Linked DNA regions of Homo sapiens: all the other regions are linked to region 4. Evidence: promoter capture Hi-C in 16 types of primary human blood cells and fetal thymus (Javierre and others, 2016). All regions are on one chromosome and are shown on one strand. Each heading gives the region's core, a stretch centred on a gene start or on the middle of the fragment in contact. The rest is flanking DNA. Distances are from core to core; before and after follow the strand shown. Region 1 overlaps CRY1 (cryptochrome circadian regulator 1). Region 2 overlaps RIC8B (RIC8 guanine nucleotide exchange factor B). Region 3 overlaps RIC8B (RIC8 guanine nucleotide exchange factor B). Region 4 holds the start of POLR3B (RNA polymerase III subunit B).

Region 1 (3,663 bases), core at 760-3,259, 730 kb after region 4:
CTCCTACAGAGAGATTCTACTAGGCTGGTGCCAAGGGGAAATATGGGGTTACAGTCCCCACAGAGAACTCACTGTAGAGCAGCGGGAACAGGGGCACTGCCCTCCAGGACCCACAGTGGTGGCAGTCTAACTAAAGCCAAGAGAAGAAGAGAAAGGTGTGGTCAAATGTGTTAAATACTGTTAAGAAAAAGAAAAAGAAAGAAACAAAGAAAGAAAGAAAAAGAAAGAAAGGAAAAGAAAAGAGAAAAGAAAAAAAGAAAAGGAAAAGAAAAGTCAGGGAGTGGAAAGATTAAAAGTATCCTTTGGATGTAAACAGCATACACCCTCAGCCTGGAAAAGTGACAGACATTAGACTCCAATCCATGAGAGCAGCCATGTGGGCTATGCCCAACCAAGCCATAGAGATGCAGCTGCCCAAGGTTTTGAGAGCTCACCTCTTGGACCAGTGTGCTCAGGATGTGGGAGGGAGTGGAAAGTGAGGAAGTGGAAAGATTAAAAGAATCCTTTGGATGAAAACAGCACACACCCTCAGCCTGGAGAAGTGACAGACATTAGACTCCAATCCATGAAAGAAGCCATGTGGTCTGTGCCCAACCAAGCCATAGAGATGGGGCTGCCCAAGGCTTCAAGAGCCCACCTCTTGGACCAGTGTGCTCAGTTATGGGACAAGAGTCAAGCGAGATTATTTTACAGCTTTAAGATTTAATGTCTGCCCTTGTAGGTTTCAGACTTGGGTGGGTCCCTTTTTGTTGGTCAATTTGTCCCTTTTAAAATGAAAATATTTACCCAATGTCTGTTCCACCATTGTATCTTAAAAGTAGATAACTTGTTTTTGATCTTACAGGTTCATAGCTATAAGGAATCTGCCTTGAGTCTCGGATAAGATTTTAGACTTTGAGTTGATGTTGAAACTAGTTAAGATTTCTGGGGACTTTGAAAGAGATGATTATATCTTACAATAGAAAAAAGAGGGTGGGCATGGTGGCTTACACCTATAATCCCAGCACTTTCAGAGGCTGAGGCAGGAGAATTGCTTTAGCCCGGGAGTATGAGACAGCTTAGTGAGATCTCACCTCTACAAGTAATAAAAAAAATTACCTGGCCATGGTAATGCATGCCTGTGGTCCCAGCTACTTGGGAGGCTGAGGTGGGACAACTGCTTGAGCCCAGGTGGTTGAGGCTACAGTGAGCCATGATCACGCCTCTGCACTCCAGCCTGGGCAACAGAGTGATACCCCGTCTCAAAAATAAAAATAAAAATAATAAATAAATAAGACAAGATATTTGGGGGGCTAGAAGTGGAGTGATATAGTTTAGATATTTGTCCTTTTCAAATCTCATGTTAAAATGTTATCCCCAATGTTGGAGGTGAGAGGTGTTTGGAACATGAGATAAGATCCCTCATGAATGGCTTGGTGCTATCACGTAATGAGTGACTTCTCACTCTATTAATTAACAGAACAATTAATTATTAAAAAGAGACTGGTATCCCTCCCCTCTCTCTCTCGCCATGTGATATGTCAGCTCCACTTCCCCTTCCATCATGATTAAAAGCTTTCTGAGGTCCTCACCAGAACCAGAGGCTGAAGCCATGCTTCTAGTAAAGCCTGCAAAACTATGAACCAAGTAAACCTCTTTTCTTTATAAATTACCCACCCTCAGGTATCCCTTTATAATAACACAAACAGACTAAGGGAGTGCTCTTATAAAAAGGGCTGCAGGAACTTGTTTACCCCTTCTGCCATGTGAGGAGACAGAGAAAGCATCGTCTATTCAGCAGAGACACTGAATCTGCTGGTGCCTTGATTCTGGACATCTTCCAAAACTGTGAGAAATAAATTCCTGTTGTTTATAAACTACCTAGTCTAAAGGTATTTTGTTATAGCAGCTCAAACAAACTATTAATAAAACAATACTAACATTCACAAATGAGGGCAGCAAATGCTAAGAGTGATGTGAGGAGCAACAGCAAAAAGTGGTGCAAGAGTTCAGAATACTGCTAATCATCCCAGACAAGCACAGAGTTGTACAATCATCCATCACCTTCTAGAACAGTTTCATCATCTCAAAAAGAAACCTTGTGCCCCTTAGCTATCACCTCCCAACTCCCTAGCTTCCCCAGTCCTAAGGAGCCACTAGTCTGCTTCCTCTCTCTATACATTTGCCCACTGTGGACATTCCATATAAACAGAATCATATAACACATGGAATTTTGTGACTGGCTTCTTTCGTTTAGTTTGTTTTTAAGGTTCATTCATACATGTAGCGTATATCAGTACTTCATTCCTTTTTATGGCCAAATAATATTCCATTATATGGATATACCATATTTTGTTTACCCATTCATCAACTGATGGCCATTTGGGTTGTTCCCACCTTTTGGCTATTATGAATAATGCTTCTGTGAATGTTAGTGTATAAGTTTTTGTATAGGATAATTTTTCTAAGAGATGCAAATTTTCATAAAGCTTGTAAATTTACCCAAATCAAAAACATGTTATTCTGAGACAATGTCCTTCAAATTTTTTGTTGTTGTTGTTTGTTTGTTTGTTTTTTAAGAGATAGGGTCTCTCTGTGTACCCAGGCTGGAGTGCAGTAGCCCATTCATAGCTCATTGCAGCTTCCAACTCCTGGGCTCAAGTGATTCTCCTGCCTCAGCCTCCTGAGTAGCTGGGATTGCAGGCATGAGACATTGAGCTCTGCCAAACTTTTTTTTTTTAAATATAAAACATCCTTTTTAAATGAAAGGATGGCAATATCAAAAAGTGGTTTTGTTAATGTGCTTATTAGGTAGAATACTATTTAAAATTTTGCTTTTCTGTTAAATCCAAAAGTCTAAAAAGTGTTGACCGAAGAAAATACAAGATAGCTTCTAAAGAAAACTAAGAGGGTTTTCCCCCTGGAGTTGAAATCACATATTGTAAACAGCAGAAAATGAAATACATAAGCCAAAAGGTAGATCTTGCCAGGCTAAGGAATTTGGGCATTATCCCATAGTCAATAAGTAAATTAATAAAGCTGTTTAAATATAAAATTATTGACTCCAAGATATCACTATATTCAACAAACAATAATTGAGCTACTACTATATAAAAAGCACTGAATTTGGTACTATGAGTGATTCCAAAAAGACTTTTGCCTCTGACACTACCAAAACCACTCCAGATAAAATTCCAAATGACCTAAAATTGCTAAATCCAATTTTTATTTTTCAGTTCTCCTCTTGACCTATCGGTAGCATCTGACGTAAGTAAAACACTCTTCCTTGAAATATTTTCCTTCTTTCTTTTTTTTCTTTTTCTTTTTTTTTTTGAGACAGAGTCTGGCTCTGTTGCCCAGGCTGGAGTGCAGTGGCACGATCTCGCCTCACTGCAACCTCTGCCTCCTGGGTTCAATCGATTCTCCTGCCTCAGCCTCCTCGAGTAGCTGGGATTACAGGCATGTGCCATACGCCTATCTAATTTTTTTGTGTTTTTTACTAGAGACGGGGTTTTGCCATATTGGCCAGGCTGGTCTCAAACTCCGGGCCTCAAGTGATCTGCCTGCCTCAGCCTCCCAAAGTGCTGGGATTACATGCCTGACCAAAATACTTTCTTTACTTGGCTTCTAAGACACCATACTCTTCTGGGTTTTCTTCTTACATTACTAGTGGCTCCTTCGCAG
Region 2 (3,637 bases), core at 816-3,315, 530 kb after region 4:
TCTATAAAGCGGCCCTGGTTGAATCTGGCAATTCTTTTTGCCAAGATCCCTAGCAGAAGATTTAGCCATGTCCTTCCCCTCACTTGTGTGAGTGGCCCCTTCTGAATCTCTCCAGCAGCCAGAGGCACGTGAGAAGCAGAAAGAGCTGGTAAATAAAGCCTTGGGCAAGCGACTTCTTAGATCAGAACTCACCAAATGGAAGCCTAGCAGCTGCTCCATAAACCTAGCCCCATTCTTCATATCAATTTTGTATAAATATATAGAAACACACACACAGCCTCAGACTTACAAACTGATTATACTCTAAAAGTTTGTATGTCAGTTAGCTAAAACTTCAGAATACATTTCTCCCTATAAAGAGTTATAAATGATGGTTTAGTTCTCAGGCAGCTACAAATGCCTATTTATTCCCTAATGTACCTGAACACTAGTACCATAGAACTGAACCACCATCTGTATCAGCGCATGGGGAGTGTGCATTCTGAGGTCTAACCCGGGGTGCCAGGAACACACACATCCTCCATCCCAGCATAGAGAATGGGGACTCCCTGAGTAATGGGAGTTCTTTCATGGCCTCTGCTTGGGGTGGGGGAGTCAGCAGCACCCATTTGTACATATAGGTCATTCATACATCACATTTTAAATTGGGGACTGTGTGTGCTGGTGTGTGTGTGAGTTCTACGTTTCTACCATATGTGATCAGTTTAATAGTAACTTTATTTATTTAAAAAAAAGAAACACAATTAGTTACTGTTAAACTGATAAAGGGTGTTTATTTTTACTTTTAGAATTGGTCCTATGAAGAAGTAGAAAGTGAGTCATGCACTAGACAGTGGGCCTAGCTCATCAGTGGCTAAAGTTGAAAAGGGGTTGGTTTCCTGTATATATATGTATGTATATACACACGTACATACATTCATATATATACATATATACATAATGTGCTTAACCACTGCCTTTTAAAACTTTAAATTAAATAAAACATTGGGGTTGATTCAATTTGGCCATCTGTGTGTGTTTCTTTATAGATACATGGGCTAAACAATACTATTTCACAGTTTATGCTTTTTTAAAGTGCTTTTACATCCATGGTCCCACTTCTAATAGCCTTTTTAAGGACAGGTAGAGTACATGGAGGGTTACTGAAAAGGTCATTTATCCAGAAGTTACCTCTCTGGCAAAGCAAAAAAATCAGGAATTACGTCTTAAAGGCCTTTCAGCTGCCAGAGGAGATGTCACAAAGTTTCTTGCAACTTACTTATGGGAGAGATCTTCAAGAATATCACTCTTAGACTCTGAACTGAAATTTGCATACGCTTCCAACATGTTTTATTAGCTGGCTTTGAAGCTCACAAAAGAATGGCAAAGAAAGAGGCTGCTAGATTGAAGGCAGGCATACTGAAAGAAGAAAAAGGCCAACTGAAAACTAGATAGTGAGATGAGAAGAATAAAACTTCAAGACATAGCAAATCTGGGACTGTCTACTTACCAAAGGATACTCTAGTTGACCCAGAAAATGTGTGTACAACAGTATGGCCCGTAGACTACTTCCTATAATGGTGACCCTGAGTTTTTTTAAAAGAAGAAATTAAATCCAGAACGCTTTATAAAAGGGTAGGAAGAAGACAATAGATGTTAGAATTTCATCCAAAATGTTTGAGGGAGAGGTGAGTGACCCAGGTTTTAACCAACAGCAAAAGAAATGGGCAATTCATAATTTTAGATTAAGTGAAAAGTTTAGAAAAAATTTAAGTATTTTTGTTATTCTACAAATGCATTTTTAAAGTATTTTTATAATTTCTATAATCAAATAGCTTTGGCATGCATGTCAGCTTACCTAAATGAAGATGTGTTTAATGAAATGCCATCTTACCAGCTTTCTTTATGCAGAGTAAGTGTTTGAACAGTCCTGTTTCAGTAGCTGTGCTCTTCTGCTTTCAGTGAGTTCTGTTTCATTTTGCATTTCTCTGCACTGGGCACTAAGCTTTGTTTTTGAAAAGAGAGTTTGCGGGGAAGAAGATGAGAGTGTCTTCATCTGGCACACAGAAAGAGAACTAATATCTGTTAAGTGCTTACTACATGCTGGGCTTTTGATGTATGTTATCTCATGTAACCTCACCTTATCGCATATGAAAGATCCTCTCCAGAAAGCTTATGAAAGTTACCCCACGTCACAGCAAGGAAGAGTCCAACTCTGGTGGCCTGACTCCCAGCACCACTCCTTCCTTTTCCCCACAGCACACCTGGGCCCACACTGTGCCTCCTTAGGGCTCTGAAATGCTGGGAACAGAGTGGTGTGAGGAGGGTGGTCATTCTCAGGCCATTTTAAGCAATAACTATTTCAACAGAACTAGTTTAAAGAGGTTTTTAAGCAGGGAAGTGACCTGAAGTGGAAGTATGAGTGGGAAACTTGCATGGTCAGCACTGGATTTCCAATGAAGACCTGGAATCCGTTAGGATAGGCCAGGGACCAAGGCTGCAGGCTGGCCTCTCTGCCCACAACTCTCCTGACCTTGGAAGCAGGGTACGGAGGCGTGTGTCCTAAAATAAAGCATTTGAGCTGCTGCTACAGAGGAACAATCACCAGATATTGTGACCCTTTCAGATGCCCAGTAGTCCTGGGAGGCAGGCAGGGCAGGTGTTATTATCCCTTCTTTATAAATGAGGACACAGAATGAGGCAGTACAAGTGACTCTAAACACCCCCTTAGTGCCACATCAGTCTCGCCACCTCCCAGGACTAGGTGTCACCTGTATTGACCTCTTCCCCTCTGATTATAAAAGTAATATATGTTCATTGTGGAAAGTTTGGAAAATGCAGAAAATAAAATTAATAATTTACCCCAAATCCCACCATCCTGAGATCATCACTGTTAATGTTTTAGTGTATTTCCTTCCTGTATTTTTTCTATGCATATATAATTTATTTTACTACAAGATTGGGATCATGCTGTATTTACAGATTTGTATCCTGCTTTCTTTAACATATTGTGAGCATTTTCCCATGTCAATAAATATTCTTCAAAAAGTAATGGCTATATGATATTCCATTATGTGAATTGTGGCAGACACTGCTAGTTTCCTTCCCAATATTCTTTCTAACAGAAGACATCATGACCACCACGCCCATAAAAAAAAAAAAAAATTTAAAAAGGTGGTGCCTGCTGCCTTTCTAGAAGGCAGCATGAGTTGTTAGTGCTGAAGAGCAGCAGGAACTAGGGGTGGCACCAGGAGGAGCAGGCTTGCTCTGCCACACAGCAACAGTCTCACAGAAGCCTCGGCAGCACAAGTCAGAACAGCTAGAGTAAGTGCCCCGATAACTATAGTTTTTGTCAAGAAGAGTTATTTGAAGGGAGCGAGGGAGCCAGGTGACTTAGAAAAGTGCATTAAAAAAAAAAAAGACGTCAACCATGTTTAGTGTTTAGTCCAGTTATTCGCATTAATTTTCTTGGAGATATTCACTGCAGTTCCAGAAGTGGAGAACACACAGGGTTGGGGAGTGATGTGTGACTCTCAGTTTTGAAAAGCAAGGTAACACGTGTCAGAATAGGTGTGTGATAAGCACGATATGGAGAACAAACTGTTCAAGGAACAAATTATGGGTGAGGAAGGGAGATATTTGTAGCAACTATGAGAAG
Region 3 (3,742 bases), core at 209-2,708, 510 kb after region 4:
AGTTGGACCAGAAAAGTATAGAAAGAGCATAATTTTAAAACATACAGCATAACTTTTTTTTCTTTTTGTAGCATTAATCTTATCACTGGTCATTTAGAGGAACCAATGCCAAACCCCATAGATGAAATGACAGAAGAACAAAAAGAATATGAAGCCATGAAACTTGTCAACATGCTTGATAAACTTTCCAGGTATTGTATTCCCATCCATTTTTTGCTTGGTTTCTAAAAATGGTCTATTTCTTTGTCTCTCTCACTGAGAGTTACCATAGAACAGCAACTCTGGAAATCCATGTTGATTGGAATAGGGTGGCCCAGGCAGCAGTAGTTCAGATAGCTCTTGGCTACCATGGTTTTTCTACATGTGCCGCTTCTGGATGTGCATTCCTAAACATTTAAACTCTCAAAGCTAAGATAGTAACTACCAGAGCACTGTAATAATTAACCAACTAACCTCCCTGTCTTCAAAAAGATGCTGTGAGTTAGATTCAGTGATTTTGCTGCTGCTTGTATTTTTGTTTTAGCCTGTTTTAGTTTTTGTTTCAAATCATGATGCTTTTATTTTTTCATTTTTGATGTGTAAGTTTGCAATTACGCCTTTTTGGGTTGCTGCTGAAACCAAGAATTCTAAAATGTCATGCACCCAATAAGAAAAAGTGAAAAGAAATAGCTCACATGAAGGATTTTCTGAAAACAGGGACTTGTATTAATTAGGAGTTCTAAAAAAAAAAAAAAAAAAAAAAAAAAACCAAAAAACTCCCCTTCCCCTCTTGCTTCTCACCTCCTTCCCCTTCAAAAATAACCAGTTTTGAAATAATTAAATCAAGTATATACTAATCAGCAACTAGTCATCTTGGAGGAGTTATTAGAAAATAATTCCTTTCATACTTGGCTGAGTCACTCTATTTTCTAGTCATACATTGAGTCACTATCTTCTTTAAGCCATCTTGAATGAATGCTTCTGTGTGTTGGTGGCAGCTGCCACTTAAAGATGCATTTCTTCTGGCCATCCCCTTTTTCACAGTAACTGTGTAAAGGCTAGTATCCCTCAGTCAAAAGAAGGAGCCATTGGAATGGAAAAGCCAGAGAGCCAACCATGAAAGGGAAAGGTGGAACACAGAAACGAGCAGAGATTAAGGGCACAGCAGAGGCTTAGGGGTAGAAATGGACAAGAACAAGAGACTGACATGGGGAGTGTGACAAGTATGGATATTTATCCACGCTGCAGAGTATGATGCTGGTAGTGTGGTAGAAGTTGTTTAGGAGTAAATAGCTTAATTATCTACAAAGCTAATAAGACTAGAACTCAGTAACTTCCAGCTAGCCCTTTTAAATTTTCATCCTTTCTCAAGGTTAGAATTTACAGCTAACTGACTATATTCACAATCTTCAAAAGACATTGTTGCCTCTTTGCAAATTACATTCTCCATACCTTTGTATAGAACAGAAATGTTCCCTCCCAGAAGGGATTAATAGTCACAGAGAAGATACCGATAGGGCAAACCTATAGGAGGCAGAATAAGATCAAAATGAATATATAAAGATAAGATGTGTGCTTGGCCACTTCCAGGAGGAGCTGATGTAGCTAATGAAACACAGGGGTATAAAAACAACAGGATAAGAACCAACAGAGTCAGGCCGGGCACAGTGGCTTATGCCTGTAATCCCAGCACATTGGGAGGCTGAGGCAGGTGGATCACCTGAGGTCGGGAGTTTGAGACCAGCCTGACCAACATGGAGAAACCCTGTCTCTACTGAAAATACAAATTTAGCCGGGTGTGGTGGCACATGCCTGTAATCCCAGCTACTCAGGAGGCTGAGGCAGGAGAATCGCTTGAACCTGGGAGGCGGAGGTTGCGGTGAACCAAGGTCGCACCATTGCACTCCAGCCTGGTCAAACAAGAGCAAAACTCTGTCTCAAAAAAAAAAAAAAAAACAAACCCGACAGAGTCCATCTGGTAGAAACTGGAGAGGAAAGGTTAGCAAGGACCTGAGTAGAACACATTAGTGTGTTAGGACAGTAAACCAGTTGCATAAATTTCATATTCTGACCAACAACATGAGTTTTTAAAGTTTAACACAAATGCCATTTAACTGGGCCATCTACCCTGGATGAGTAAACTCCAGGTAGGGAAATGGAAGACAGGGGAAATAACTGCCTAAGACTACACAGTATAATCCAGATACTTGGCTTACTAATAGAGGAACTACCATTTCATAAGGCATCTCTATCACAGGCACAGAAAACAAAGGTGCTAGGTCCTTCTCCTTTTAATCTCAGGGGAATCCACATATTCTAGAAGCTGCCAACAAATAAATATACAAACGTCAAGTCTGAAATACCCCAGCTTCCACCTGATTTAAACTATGCCTCAAAGAAGATGCCTACTTATCCGGAAGTACCCAGCAGATGCCCAACTGAAGGTGACACTGATTTTTGCATGTTTAAAGCAGAGCAAATATGTCTTATGTTGGCTTTGATGGTATCAATTTTGCCATTAAAGTTGAAGCAAAAGGCAACCTTGAGAATAGTTCAAATCATACAGAATTTTTGCATGACGTGTGTTGGGCGTTTTACATTGTCTGCCTTTGTGTGCTTTCTAACATTTGCTCTCACTAAATACAATCAATGACAAAACTGTATAAAGATCAGCAGTGGGCATTCCAAAGCAGTAATGCAAAGAATGAAGTCATTCTTTATGCGTCTTACATGTCTTTTGTGCTGTGTTCCTCATTAGTCTTAAGTTTCTTCTCTCTTTCCACTTTTTTTTGAGGTAAAAAAAGATGCCATAAAGCCAAAATAGACTAAACTCAGTACAATTCAGGGAACATTTACTAAGCAGCTACTCTGTGCAAGGCATCGTGCTAGGAACCTGAGGAAGATTCAGAGGAGAATGTGACAGTCTCTGCCTTTGGAAAACTCACATTCTAGTGGAAGAAATGACTGTAATCTAGTCTAGAATACAAGGTAGAAGGAAATAATGACAAAATGAGTTCTATGTTGAAATGTAAGCATGCAGGAAAAGGAGTAGTTCATTCTGTCTGGATGATTCAGGGACTGTTTCACAGGAAAGCTAGCATTTGTGCTGATCCTAGAATTTTGATGTATTTAATAGAAAAATGGAAAAATGACCATTCATTCCAGGTGGAGAGAAATTTAATCTTGTTAATAAGTCTTGGATAGTCACATACTACTTATTTCTTCTAAAGAGCTCAGGTTGTTTTATCATTATTTGATTAGTACGTTATCAGATTTATCATTGGGGGAAGCAAGTACCAAAGAATTGCCCAAAGCATTTCCAAGCTAATGACTGATGATAATTCATTTCCTTTTAACAGTTTATAAAACACTTTCACATACATCCTCTTTCTAGTTTCATTTTAAAAAGTGAGACTAGACCTTCATTTTCCAGAACTCAAGACGTTTGCTCTGTCCACTGTACTACGGTGTCTGTCTGTTATAGTAAGTGTTTGCCAGAACACTTCCTCATCACCCTGTCAGCATTGTACTATTGGTTAGTTCCCTCCCTTTCACTCTAGGACGTTCTGCATTCAACCAAGTCGTTATTGTGCTAAGAGTGTACCATAGCTTTGTCTGATTAACTTTCCTTCTCAAAAATGAAATGGTTTTCTCCTGCACCTGAATTGAAAGGCATGTGAGTAAAGGATAGGGTTGGAGGTGATGTGGCCAATGAATGGACACTAGACACTTCCTTTTTTCCATCCATAGGAGAGCAGATGTG
Region 4 (3,405 bases), core at 54-2,553:
TCGGGAGGCTGAGGCAGGAGAATGGCGTGAACCCGGGAAGCGGAGCTTGCAGTGAGCCGAGATTGCGCCACTGCAGTCCGCAGTCCCACCTGGGCGACAGAGCGAGACTCCGTCTCAAAAAAAAAAAAAAAAAAAAAAAAAAAGAAAATACAAGTACTGAAATTTAAGTAGCTCTTTAGTAAATAAGAATAATTAACCTGGTGCAAGGGTTCTACCTTTATGAGGGAGAAATTGGAAAGCATATATGTACTTACAAATTTTCATAACTTTTCTTATCGTTGTAAAATATACATAAAACTTAGCATTTTAACCCTTTAAAATGATGTACAGGTCAGCAGCATTAAATACATTCACACTGTTGTGCAACCATCACCATTCTCCATTTACAGAACTTTTGCATCTTCCCAAACCGAAACTCCGTACCCATTAATTAATTGGTGCATTTTGCCTTGTTTTTTCTAATAGGATTTTTCTTTCTGTTGATTTGTATGAGCTCATTTTAAATTAGAGAGACCAGCCCTTTGTCTTCTGCCAATTTATTTTTTATTAATTCTATTTGTTGGTGATTTTTTAAAATCTGTTCAGAAAATTAAAAATTTTCCGTGGAATCATAAAATCGTGTTTAGATTATAAAATCCTTTATGATTTGACTGTTGCCGTCTTGAAAGTCTTCAACATCTCAATGTTATGAATATCTGCACTTACATTTTCTTCTAAGTTTTTGTTAACATTTCAATATTTAATCCACAAAAGATTCACTTACATGTATTTTTTCCCCAAATGGGTAATCAGCTCTTCAAACATTATTTACTGGACAGGCCATCCTTCCCCTACTAACGTAAATGTCATCTTTTCATATTAAATTTCTCCATGCGCTGGGTATTTACTCCTACATCTTCCATCTAGTGCTTTTGAGAATTTTCAACACTCTTCCATTACACGCATGTACCATCATTTATTTAATCAATCTTCTATTGGTAGGCATTTGGGACGTTTCCTGCTCTTCCATACTAAACAATGCATAGAATTTTGGACTACATTAAATAATTCTCTGCCTCAGTGGTTCAAGTTGCGTAAATTATGCGTTTACACTTTTCTTCGGATTACTTTTAAAATGACAACCACTATGTTTTGCTGGTCTCAATTACCAGAGAATTGGCAAGAAACCTGACAGCTGGGGCTTAGGATTCCCTGCGCCAGACCTCCGAGCTACACCAGAGGGCGTACTTTCCTTACTCGGCCTCGGCCACATCCGGGTTCCACCGCAGATTCGGGCAGGGAGCGGGCGGAACCTTTCTACCGCGTCTCTAGCTAACACGCACGGCGGGGACAGTTTAGGCCTCCGCGCACCGTTCGCCGGGAGTCTTGCAGTTTGCTTGGTGCAGGGAAGGCGGGCGCGGAGGTTCTATCTGTTTCTTCCTCCTTCGTGAGCAGCATGGACGTGCTAGCGGAGGAGTTTGGGAACCTGACTCCGGAGCAGCTGGCGGCGCCGATCCCGACTGTAGAGGTCAGTGCCAGGCACGCAGGGAGCGTCAGGGACAAGGATGCGCCCTGAGGGGGCGTTGCCCGGAGTGCTCGGGCCGCCAAGGGGGCGGGCTGGCGGTTTGTGCGCATGCGCCGGGCTTCTGCGCATGCCCAGAGCGTCGCGCTTGCGAGTCTTTTTTCCAGAGCCGGCCTCCGCGTGCGCGAGTGAAGGCTGATCCCAGAGGAGCTGTCAGCCGCTGCGGGGGCCGAGAAGCCCCGCTGCTGGCTCTAGGGTTGGAGCTCTTCCAGCATAGGTGTGCGTGGGGAGGACTGACCCTCGCACTTACTGTGGGGGACGTATTGCATGTTTGCAGTCTTACAGAGGACACGGGGCCAGGGAGCTCAGGCCATTTGCATGAGGCACCACAGCCGGCTGTGGGGGTAAAACCAGATCGTCTGAATTCCAAGCTAGTCATCTTTCCTTTTAACTTGAAGTTCCAGTTTGGGTTGCAGGGGAATTTTAAACGCCCTCAATATTTACTAAAGAATTTGCCTGTGTGTTTTCTGGGGGAGAGACTCCACAGCTTTCATCAGCTTCTCGGAAGTTAAGGACAGCTGCCCCACAGCGAGCTGCCCAGTGAAGTGCGGCTGTCGACATATTTTGTTATCTGATAAGGCACATTTTGTAATCTCTCTGAGCCTCAAAATCTACACTGACGTGGAATAGGGAAGTGGAGACGTGGCCGGAGAAGATAGCAAAGGAGAGATTTCAGGGAAAGAGAACAGGATACTTGAAACCTCCTCGGCAAGACCATTGGATGTTTTTGAGGAAGGAAAGTAAATCCAGTAGTATTAGAGTGAAGAAAAATAGAGGAGAAGAGATAAAAGACAGGGTTAAGTAAGGGTCTTGATTATGAAAAGTTTCAATAAACATCTGACAGAGCTTGGACTTTGTCTTGGAGCAGAGCTTTTGAAGGGTTTAAGCAGGAAAGTGACATGATCAGTAAGTCTATCGGATTATAAGAACCTCCTTGGCTAGGCGTGGTGGCCTGTAATACCAGTAGTTTGGGAGGCCAAGGCGGGCGGATCACTTGGGCTCAAGAGTTTGAGAACAGCTTGGGCGACATGGCAAAACCCTGTTTCTACAAATAATACAAAAATTAGCTGGGTGTGGTGGCGTGCACTTGTCCCAGCAACTCAGGAGGCTGAGGTGGAAGGATCACTTGAGCCTGGAAGGTCGAGGCTGCAGTGAGCCGTAATTGTGCTGCTGCACTCCAGCCTGGGTGACTGAGACCTTGTCTCAAGGAAAACAAAACAAAACCTCTTTATAATAGTTTGACAAGTTAAGGAAGTTGAATTAGCAGTTCCAACAGATTCAGTCTATAAGTGCATGCAATAGGCTGCTGATCATCAGGCAAAACTATTTTTTTTTTTTTTTTTTGAGACGGAGTCTAGCTCTGTCGCCCAGGCTGGAGTGCAGTGGTGTAATCTCGGCTGACTGCAACCTCTGCCTCCCGGGTTCAAGCAATTCTCCTGCCTCAGCCTCCCAAGTAGCTGGGATTACAGGCGCCCACCATCACCGCCAGCTAATTTTTGTATTTTTAGTAGAGACGGGGTTTCACTGTGTTGGCCATGCTGGTCTCGAACTCCTGACCTCGTGATCCACCGCCTCGGCCTCCCAACGTGCTGGGATTACAAGCGTGAGCCACCGTGCCCGGCTGCAAAACTGTATTTTAACCGTGAAAAGTGAATATCAAAGAGCCAGCATTCACTGAGCACTTGCTAATGTGCCAGGTTCTGTTTAACCATAACATGCATTATGTTATTTAATCCTCTGAAATAAGTACTATTTTCACCCCCATTTTGCCAGAGAGGCCCAAAGATGTTAAGTAAATAGCCTTGCATTAGAAGCCTGGTAGTGGCTAATCTGGAATTTGGACT

The links. The method cuts DNA at HindIII sites, captures the fragments that hold promoters and counts their contacts. A CHiCAGO score of 5 or more calls a contact.
Region 1: a contact is called between a fragment that was not itself captured here and the fragment with the promoter of POLR3B in region 4, in 2 of 17 cell types (total CD8 T cells and fetal thymus). The highest score is 6.0, in total CD8 T cells.
Region 2: a contact is called between a fragment that was not itself captured here and the fragment with the promoter of POLR3B in region 4, in 9 of 17 cell types (megakaryocytes, endothelial precursors, fetal thymus and 6 more). The highest score is 9.4, in megakaryocytes.
Region 3: a contact is called between a fragment that was not itself captured here and the fragment with the promoter of POLR3B in region 4, in 1 of 17 cell types (megakaryocytes). The highest score is 5.6, in megakaryocytes.

Annotation. Positions count from the first base shown.
Region 1 is chr12:107,086,796-107,090,458 of GRCh38, forward strand. All of the region lies in intron 1 of CRY1 (cryptochrome circadian regulator 1), which reads right to left. Among named protein-coding and RNA genes, the nearest start is that of CRY1, 4.9 kb to the right of the region's middle. The HindIII fragment of the contact is 914 bases long and covers 1,553-2,466 here.
Region 2 is chr12:106,886,286-106,889,922 of GRCh38, forward strand. It overlaps RIC8B (RIC8 guanine nucleotide exchange factor B), which reads left to right. Exons shown (of 10, transcript NM_001330145.2): 10 at 1-3,031. Among named protein-coding and RNA genes, the nearest start is that of TMEM263-DT, 67 kb to the right of the region's middle. The HindIII fragment of the contact is 167 bases long and covers 1,983-2,149 here.
Region 3 is chr12:106,870,752-106,874,493 of GRCh38, forward strand. RIC8B (RIC8 guanine nucleotide exchange factor B) reads left to right here. Exons shown (of 10, transcript NM_001330145.2): 9 at 72-191. All of the region lies in intron 2 of LOC105369961 (a long non-coding RNA gene), which reads right to left. Among named protein-coding and RNA genes, the nearest start is that of TMEM263-DT, 83 kb to the right of the region's middle. The HindIII fragment of the contact is 6,623 bases long and covers 1-3,742 here.
Region 4 is chr12:106,356,445-106,359,849 of GRCh38, forward strand. POLR3B (RNA polymerase III subunit B) reads left to right here and starts at 1,304. Exons shown (of 28, transcript NM_018082.6): 1 at 1,304-1,507. The coding sequence starts at 1,436. The HindIII fragment of the contact is 8,226 bases long and covers 1-3,405 here.